Linked DNA regions of Homo sapiens: region 1 is linked to region 2. Evidence: promoter capture Hi-C in 16 types of primary human blood cells and fetal thymus (Javierre and others, 2016). All regions are on one chromosome and are shown on one strand. Each heading gives the region's core, a stretch centred on a gene start or on the middle of the fragment in contact. The rest is flanking DNA. Distances are from core to core; before and after follow the strand shown. Region 1 has its middle 12 kb from the start of OR9G1. Region 2 holds the start of OR10AG1 (olfactory receptor family 10 subfamily AG member 1).

Region 1 (4,917 bases), core at 2,126-4,625, 740 kb before region 2:
AAGATCAAAAGAGACAAAGAAGGCCACTACATAATGGTAAAGGGATCAATTAAACAAGAAGAGCTAACTATCCTAAATACATATGCACCCAATACAATAGCACCCAGATTCATAAAGCAAGTCCTTAGAGACCTACAAAGAGACTTAGACTCCCACACAATAATAATGGGAGACTTCAACACCCCACTGTCAATATTAGACAGATCAATGAGACAGAAGATTAACAAGGATATCCAGGACCTGAACTCAGCTCTGCAACAATAGACATCTAATAGACATCTACAGAACTCGCCACCCAAAATCAACAAATGTACACTCTTCTCAGCAACACATCAAACTTATTCTAAAATTGACCACATAATTGGAAGTAAAGCACTCCTCAGCAAATGTAAATGAACAGAAATCACAACAAACAGTCTCTCAGACCACAGTGCAATCAAATTAGAACTCAGGATTAAGAAACTCACTCAAAACTGTACAACTACATGGAAACTGAAAAACCTGCCCTGAAGGACTACTGGGTAAATAATGAAATGAAGGCAGAAATAAAGATGTTCTTTGAAACCAATGAGAACAAAGACAAAATGTACCAGAATCTCTGGGACACATTTAAAGCAGTGTGTAGAGGGAAATTGATACCACTAAATGCCCATAAGAGAAAGCAGGAAAGATCTAAAATTGGTACCCTAACATCACAATTAAAAGAACCAGAGAAGCAAGAGCAAACATATTCAAAAGCTAGCAGAAGGCAAGAAATAACTAAGATCAGAGCAGAACTGAAGGAAATAGAGACACAAAAAAATCCTTCAAAAAAATCAATGAATCCAGGAGCTGGTTTTTTGAAAAGATCAACAAAATTGATAGACTGCTAGCAAGACTAACAAAGAAGAAAATAGAGAAAAATCAAATAGATGCAATAAAAAATGATAAAGGGAATATCACCACCGATCCCACAGAAATACAAACTACCATCAGAGAATACTATAAACACCTCTATGCAAATAAACTAGAAAATCTAGATGAAATGGATAAATTTCTGGACATATACACCATCCCAAGACTAAACCAGGAAGAAGTTGAATCTCTGAATAGACCAATAACAGGATCTGAAACTGAGGCAATAATTTATATCCTACCAACCAAAAAAAATCCAGGACCAGATGCATGCACAGCCAAATTCTACCAGAGGTGCAAAGAAGAACTGGTACCATTCCTTCTGAAACTATTCCAATCAAGAGAAAAAGAGGGAATCCTTCCTAACTCATTTTATGAGGCCAATATCTCCTGATACCAAAGCTTGGAAGATACACAACAAAAAAAGAGAATTTTAGACCAATATCCCTGATGAACATTGATGTGAAAATCCTCAATGAAATACTGGCAAACCGAATCCAGCAGCACATCAAAAAGCTTCTCCAGCACAGTCAAGTCGGCTTCCTGCCTGGGATGCAAGGCTGGTTCAATATATGCAAATCAATAAACGTAATCCATACATAAACAGAACCAATGACAAAAACCACATGATTATCTCAATAGATGCAGAAAAGGCCTTTGACAAAATTCAACAGCCCTTCATGCTAAAAACTCTCAATGAACTAGGTATTGATGGAATGTATCTCAAAATAATGAGCTATTTATGACAAAAACTGGAAGCATTCTCTTTGAAAACTGGCACAAGACAGGGATGCCCTCTCTCACCACTCCTATTCAACATAGTGTTGGAAATTCTGGCCAGGGCAATCAGGCAAGAGAAAGAAATAAAGGCATTCAATTAAGAAATGAGGAAGTCAAATTGTCCCTGTTTGCAGATGACATGATTGTATATTTAGAAAACCCCATCATCTCAGCCCAAAGTCTCCTTAAGCTGATAAAGAACTTCAGCAAAGTCTCAGGATACAAAATCAATGTGCAAAAATCACAAGTATTCCTATACACCATTAACAAACAGAAAGAGAGCCAAATCATGAGTGAACTCCCATTCACAATTGCTTCAAAGAGAATAGAATACCTAGGAATCCAGCTTACAAGGGATGTGAAGGGTCTCTTCAAGGAGAGCAACAAACTACTGCTCAATGAAATACAAGAGGACACAAACAAATGGGAAAATGTTCCATGCTTATGGATAGGAAGAAACAATATCATGAAAATGGCCATACTGCCCAAAGTAATTTATAGATTCAATGCTATCTCCACCAAGCTACCAATGCCTTTCTTCACAGAATTGGAAAAAACTACTTGAAAGTTCATATGGAACCCAAAAAGAGTCCGTATTGCCAAGACAATCCTAAGCCAAAAGAACAAAGCTGGAGGCACCACGGTACCTGACTTCAAACTACACTACAAGGCTACAGTAATAAAAACAGCATGGTACTGGTACCAAAACAGATATATAGACCAATGGAACAGAATAGAAGCCTCAGAAATAACACCACACATCTACAACCATCTGATATTTGACAAACCTGACAAAAACAAGAGATGGGGAAAGGATTCCCCAGTTAATAAGTGGTGCTGGGAAAACTGGCTAGCCATATGTAGAAAGCTGAAACTGAATCTCCCTTCCTTACACCTTATACAAAAATTAATTCAAGGTGGATTAAACACTTAAATGTTAAACCTAAAACCATAAAACCCTAGAAGAAAACCTAGGCAATGCCATTCAGGACATAGGCATGGGCAAGAACTTCATGACTAAAACACCAAAAGCAATGGGAACAAAAGCCAAAATAGACAAATGGGATCTAATCAAACTAAAGAACTTCTGCCCTGCAAAAGAAACTACCATCAGAGTGAAAAGGCAACCTACAGAATGGGAGAAAATTTTAGCAATCTACCCATCTGACAAAGGGCGAATATAGAGAATCTACAAAGAACTCAAACAAATTTACAAGAAAAAAACAAACAACCCTATCAAAAAGTGGGCACAGGATATGAACAGACGCTTCTCAAAAGAAGACATCTATGTAGCCAACAGACACATGAAAAATGCCCATCATCACTGGCCATCAGAGAAATGCAAATCAAAACCACAATGAGATACCATCTCACACCAGTTAGAATGGCAATCATTAAAAAGTCAGGAAACAACAGATGCTGGAGAGGGTGTGGAGAAATAGGAATGCTTTTACACTGTTGGTGGGAGTGTAAATTAGTTCAACCATTGTGGAAGACAGTGTGGCGATTCCTCAAGGATCTAGAACTAGAATTACCATTTGATGTAGCAATCCCATTACTGGGTATATACCCAAAGGATTATAAATCATGCTACTATAAAGACACATGCACACGTATGTTTTTTGTGGCACTACAATAGCAAAGACTTGGAACCAACCCAAATGTCCACCAATGATTGACTGGATTAAGAAAATGTGGCACATATACACCATGGAATACTATGCAGCCACAGAAAAGGATCAGTTCATGTCCTTTGCCGGTAAATGGATGAAGCTGGAAACCATCATTCTCAGCAGACTATCACAAGGACAGAAAACCAAACACCACATGTCTCACTCATAGGTGGGAATTGAACAATTAGATCACTTGGACACTGGGCAGGGAACATCACACACTGGGACCTGTCAGGGAGTGGTGGGCTGGGGGAGGGATAGCATTAGGAGAAGTACCTAATGTAAATGATGAGTTGATGGGTGCAGCAAACCTACATGGCACATTTATACCTATGTATCAAACATGCACGTTGTGCACATGTACCCTAGAACTGAAAGTATAAATTTTAAAAAAAGGAAAAAAAAGAGAAACTTCTCTCTTCTTAGTTAATAGCTAATGGTCTACCAATTTTTTGTCTTTCCAAAAAACCATTTTTTTAGTCTGAATTTCATTTAGTTCTGCTCTGATCTTTGTTATTTCTTTTCTTCTGCTAGCTTTGGGTTTGGTTTCTTCTTGTTTCTCTACTTCCTTGAGATGTAACATTAGGTTGTCAATTTGTGATCTTTCAGACAGAGTAACATATGCATTTAGCACTATAAACTTTCCTCTTAGCACTGTTTTTGCTGCATCCCAGAGGTTTTGATAATTTGCGTCACTGTTATCATTAATTTTGAAGAATTTTAAAATTTCAATGTTGATTCCTTTATTAAACCAAAAATCATTCAGGAGCTGATTGTTTAATTTCCATGTGTTTATGTAGTTTTGAGGATTCCTATTGGAATTGATTTCTAGTTTTGTTCTCTTGTGATCTGAGAAGATACTTGATATGATTCTGATATTTTTACATTTGTTAAGACTTGCTTGTGGCCTATCATATAGTCTACCTTGGAGAATATTCCATATGCTAATGAGAAGAATGTATATTCAGCTCTTGGGTAGAATGTTATGTAAGTATCTGTTAGGTTCATTGTTTTTTTTTTTTTGGAGTTCAGTTTAAAGCCCAGTGTTTCTTTGTTGACTTTCTGCCTAGATAATGTCTAGTATTGTCACCAGAGTACTGAAGTTCCCCACTACTATTTTGTTGCTCACTATCTCTTTTCTTAGGCCTAGTAATAATTGTTTTATGAGTTTAGGAGCTCCAGAGTTAGATGCATTTATATTTATAATTGTTACATCTTCTTTTTGGATTGATCCTTTTATCGTTATGTAATGACCTCCTTCATCTTTTTTTTTAGTGTTGTTGCTTTAAAGTCTGTTTTATCTGATACAGGAATAGCTATTCTTGCTTGCTTGCTTTTGGTTTCCATTTGCATGGAATATCTTTTTCACCCCTTTACCTGCAAGAATCCTTACATGTTAGGTGTGTCTCTTGAAGACAGCAGATGTTTGGTTTGTGATTTTTAAAAATTTATTATGCCATTCTGTATTCACATTCAGTGTTAATATTGAGATGTGGGGTACTGTTCCAGTAATCATGTTTGTTGCTACCTAAGACTTTGTTTTCTTCATTGTGTTCTTATTTTAAAGGAC
Region 2 (4,613 bases), core at 1,938-4,437:
CTTCTTTATTTTGATAAGGCGTTGATATATCTGTGGTAATGTTTCAGGTTTTAGACTTGTTCAGGTCACTGTGGTATTTAAATGAATTATGAAATACCCAATTTATCCAATTCTCCTTTTTCATAATACACCAGTGTACTCCAGTGGAAAATGGACATTCAGCTTGTCCCAACCTGGTAATGGAAAGTTTCTGGAAAATCATGAGTACCATTTTCAATTGTAGATGGAAATGAAGAAAGCCCTCTTTGGACATACCAAATCAGTGATAATAAAGAGTACAGAGGAACAATGTAGGAGAGGCATGCTGTGGTATAGAGAAGCAGATTTAGCATGCATAGAGGAAGTTGGTTTTAGAAACATACTGTCAAATGGTCATAGAACGCCAAACAAGAAGAAACAAATGTAACTCCACATAGAAGTAGATTTGGTGCTCCTGATTTTATGCCTGAGAAACATCACCATACACACCCGGAAGTAGCTGCAATAGGGAAAGGATGTTGAAAAGTTTCTTCTTTTCCTTCTGTTTTAAATAATCTAGTTTAAAATGTTTATTTTTGAAGTGGCTTGCATTAAATTTTTTTTTTTTATTGTAGGTTCAGGTGTCCATTTGAAGGGTTGTTCCACATGGGGTTTGTTGTACAGATTTCACCCAGGTATTATTTTTTGTTTTTCTTTTGAGACAGAGTTTCACTCTTGTTGCCCAGTCTGGAGTGCAATGGCACGATCTCGGCTCACCGCAACCTCCACCTCCCAGGTTCAAGTGATTCTCCTGCCTCACCCTCCCTAGCAGCTGAGATTACAGGCATGTACCACTACACCTGGCTAATTTTGTATTTTTAGTAGAGATGGGATTTCTCCATGTTGGTCAGGCTGGTCTCGAACTCCTGACATCAGGTCATCCGCCCTCCTCGGCCTCCCAAAGTGCTGGGATTACAGGCTTGAGCCACAGTGCCTGGCCCTCACCCAGGTATTAAGCCTAGTACCCAATAGTTATTTTTTCTGCTCCTCTCCCTCCTTTCATTCTCCATCCTCAGGTAGGCCCTCCATGTGTCCATGTGTTCCCATCACTTAGCTCTCACTTTTAAGTGAGAGCATGCAGTATTTGGTTTTCTGTTCTTGAGTTAGTTCGCTAAGGATAATGGCCCTCAGCTCCATCCATGTTCCTGCAAAGGACATAGTCTTCTTTTTTAATGGTTTCATAGGATTCCATGATGTATACGTACCACATTTTCTTTATCTAGTCTACCACTGATGGACATATAGATTGATTCCATGTCTATGCTATTGAGAATAGTGCTGCAATGAATGTATGTGTGCATGCATCTTTATAATGGAATGATTTCTATTCCTTTGGATCTAGAGCCAGTAATGTGATTATGGGGTAGAATGGCAGTTCTGTTTTTACCTCTTTCAGGAATCGTCACACTGCTTTCCACAATGGTTGAACTAATTTACACTCCCATCAAGACACTGTAAGTGTTGCCTCTTCACTGCAACCTCACCAGCATCTGTTATTTTTTGACTTTTTAATAATAGTGATTTTGACTGGTGTGAGATGGTATCTATCTCATTGTGGTTTTGATTTGCATTTCTCTAATGATCACTGGTTAGTGATGGAAAGTTTGATTTGCATTTCTCTAATGATCACTAGTTAGTGACCATTAGACCCGCTCAGGGAGGGACGGGCCCACAAACGCTCCGAGGACAACGGCTCTGCAGCAGGGCCAAAGGTGCACTCACTCCGGGAGCAGTGGCACACAGGATGTATGGGCACACTCACAGTGGCAGGGAAGGGAAGGCAATGTCCTCTGGCACACACACTCACTGGCAAAGGGATGCTGGTATTAGTGTTTTTATAATTAGCATAAATAATAGGAGAGAGACATAAATAGGGGGTGGCTATGGGTGAGTGAGTGCAGGCAAAGTGGCCCGAGAGGCTGCAGTGCAGGGAGGGTGCTGGTGGGCTGGCCTGTGTCTGCACAGGCTACTCTGCTGGATCAGTCTGCTGGTCAGCCGGGGGTCCACCAGCACAGGAGCTATGATGTGGCCCCCAGGAGGTACCTGGCTGGGGGCCAAGCTGGGACCCAGGAGAGGCCAGCAAACTGAGTGGTGCTGAAGTTAGAATAGCCTCATGTAGTGGGTGAGACTGCCGTGCAGAATTCAGGTCCCATAGTTCCCATAGGGCTAAAGCTTCCTACGGGAGCAGGTCAAGCCTGGGGGGATGGGCATCCCTGGCCATGCTCCACTACAGACACTTTCACACTAAACCCTCTGGATTCCACACAGGCTGGAGTTCTGCCCCTACCACTTGTCTAAGCATCTCTCCCTGCCAGTTCAAGTGTTACTTGTGGTCCAGGGGTTTTCTCCTGCTGGGATTCGGAGGCTCATGGAAAGAGAGGGTTGCTCCTTGCCCATTCAACTCATGCTTTTGCAGGAGTCACTGGGGGCCAGGAATGCTTCCTGTGTGTGGTACCCCCATGCAGAATTCCTTTCCTTCTGAAGATTTGCTAGGAGTGCACCAATCTTCCTGATGTCCTGGTCCCTCGTGGGCGATGTTCCTCTTGACTGCGTCTAGTGGGACGTCTTGGAGTGGTATATTACATTTTCAATCAGCTGGATACATTTCCCTGGTGCCTTATAGACAACACAGAATGAAATAAATGTATAGATAGATTTTCTCAGCAGAATTAACATGTTTTAATATCCACAAAAAAAGTTAACCTAGGAACAGAGGGTTCCACATCTGAAAAAGAATCTCACCGTTCAATATGTCGAAGACATCAAGCATATCATGTTCGTGTGATTAAACACATGATATATTTTTTAAAGGTCTAGTTAATTTGGATCTGGATAAATTATTGGAATAGAAGTAAGGCAGACAAATCCACACTAAGTATTAGGGGCCTCAAATACACAGTTGGAAAATTTTTAACTTTTTCCTGAAAGTAATACTAGACAACTAAATGGTATTTAATTAACTCCCCTCATGAGGAGATGAAGAGGAGGATAAGTTTACTTAAAGTAGTTTTGAAAAATGAATCAGAATGATTGACAAACAGAAGCAGCCTTCTAGAAATTAAACTGATACTCAAGAGAAGACACATCCCAGGTTGAGTCTGACTATTCCTATATAAGAGCTGTTGCTGTTTGAAACAAGCAAGCGTATTGCAAAATTACAGTTCCCGAGAAAAGGAAGAGCTTAAAAAGTCTGTACAGACAGCTTCATGCAAATCCCTAAAGGTAAGCCATAATTGGGTTGACAGACTATTTTATTTAAGAATAGTTACAAGTTTGTGGATAGAAATGCAACTAATAAAACAGAAAAGCATGAAATTTTGAGACCTTTATCTGAAAATTAATTATTTAACATTTAAATCATGTATCTCTTCACTACAAAGTTAAATAAAATTAGATGTCCAATAATGGTAAAATTGCATTAGTGATGAAAAGTCATTTAAGGCAATTTTGAAAACTAGTACTAATAGAAATGTATAAATATGAGATAGTATTTGTCTGATCACTTTCATTTATCAACGTATTAAGTCAAATGCATTGGCTGACCGGGCTAAAATAGGTATAGGTGCAGCAGATTTGAAGACACAGAAAAAAAGAATTTGTTTAGAAAGTTGGAGAACAAACGTTAAGCAAGTGTAATGGGAATTGACAAGCAGTGATTTCCTCATATTGGATGACATTGACATGAAGTGAAGCAAGACAGTGTGTTTTTGTTTTGTTTTGTTTAATTTTTTGGTCCCATTTATATGCTCTGGCCACTTAGATGGCCAGAGTAAATGTTAGCTGGGTTTAATCAAAGAATTTTACTTTAATAAGGCAACAGGATGAAGGGAAAATAGAGAGAAGGAATTGTATTTGGTTGAAAGGAACTGTATTTGGTTATATGACAATGGAGAAATTCACTTAGATAAAAAAAAGAAATGTAAAAAAAATTGTGATGAATTTCTACATCTTGATTAAGTTATAATTTAATTACTATTTAGCATTCACTGTATTCAGGGCAATAACAGGGGAAGTCAATAAACTGCCTACTGGTATTAGTGTTTTTATATTTAGCATAAATAATAGGAGAGAGACATGAAGTAGAGCAACAATAATGCATGTATTTAGTCTCTCAGTAACCAAGAAATTGTTTAAGATAATTGATTCTCACTGGTGCATAAAAGGAAAAGTTTAAAATTCATTTTGAGTATGAATTAATCGTAATATTCAAGGGCAACATTTTGAATTAAAAAAACTGGAATATGACTACCAATACAAAGAAAAATGATATTCTCAGATGAAATAGTAAAAGCCTACACTATAACTCTACTCTTAAGTGTGAAATAATAAGATGTTATTCCTCCATAATATTTTCTAAACAACAATGCATGCTTCTCAATGCCTCTGGTTGCATTATATCCCAGTATAATAAAATATATTGAGGTTTCATTTCTTAAATTGATTTTAATGCTAAATCAGTTTATTATCTAGAAACAGAGCAAGTACTGGTGAAAATGACTTAAGAGCTTAAGTAAGTATATTCCTGTATCTCATTTAGTTAACCCAAGAGGAAAATATTGTTCAAAATATGGATGAATTAACTGTCTTGAATTTGC

What was found. Contacts are between HindIII fragments. The CHiCAGO score rates a contact against its expected background, and 5 or more counts as called.
Region 1: a fragment that was not itself captured here is called in contact with the fragment with the promoter of OR10AG1 in region 2 in 1 of 17 cell types (erythroblasts); the score reaches 5.3 in erythroblasts.

The regions. Positions count from the first base shown.
Region 1 is chr11:56,708,240-56,713,156 of GRCh38, reverse strand. No RefSeq gene overlaps it. Among named protein-coding and RNA genes, the nearest start is that of OR9G1, 12 kb to the right of the region's middle. The HindIII fragment of the contact is 3,926 bases long and covers 1,413-4,917 here.
Region 2 is chr11:55,968,519-55,973,131 of GRCh38, reverse strand. OR10AG1 (olfactory receptor family 10 subfamily AG member 1) reads left to right here and starts at 3,187. Exons shown (of 2, transcript NM_001005491.2): 1 at 3,187-3,240. The coding sequence starts at 3,225. The HindIII fragment of the contact is 3,009 bases long and covers 2,193-4,613 here.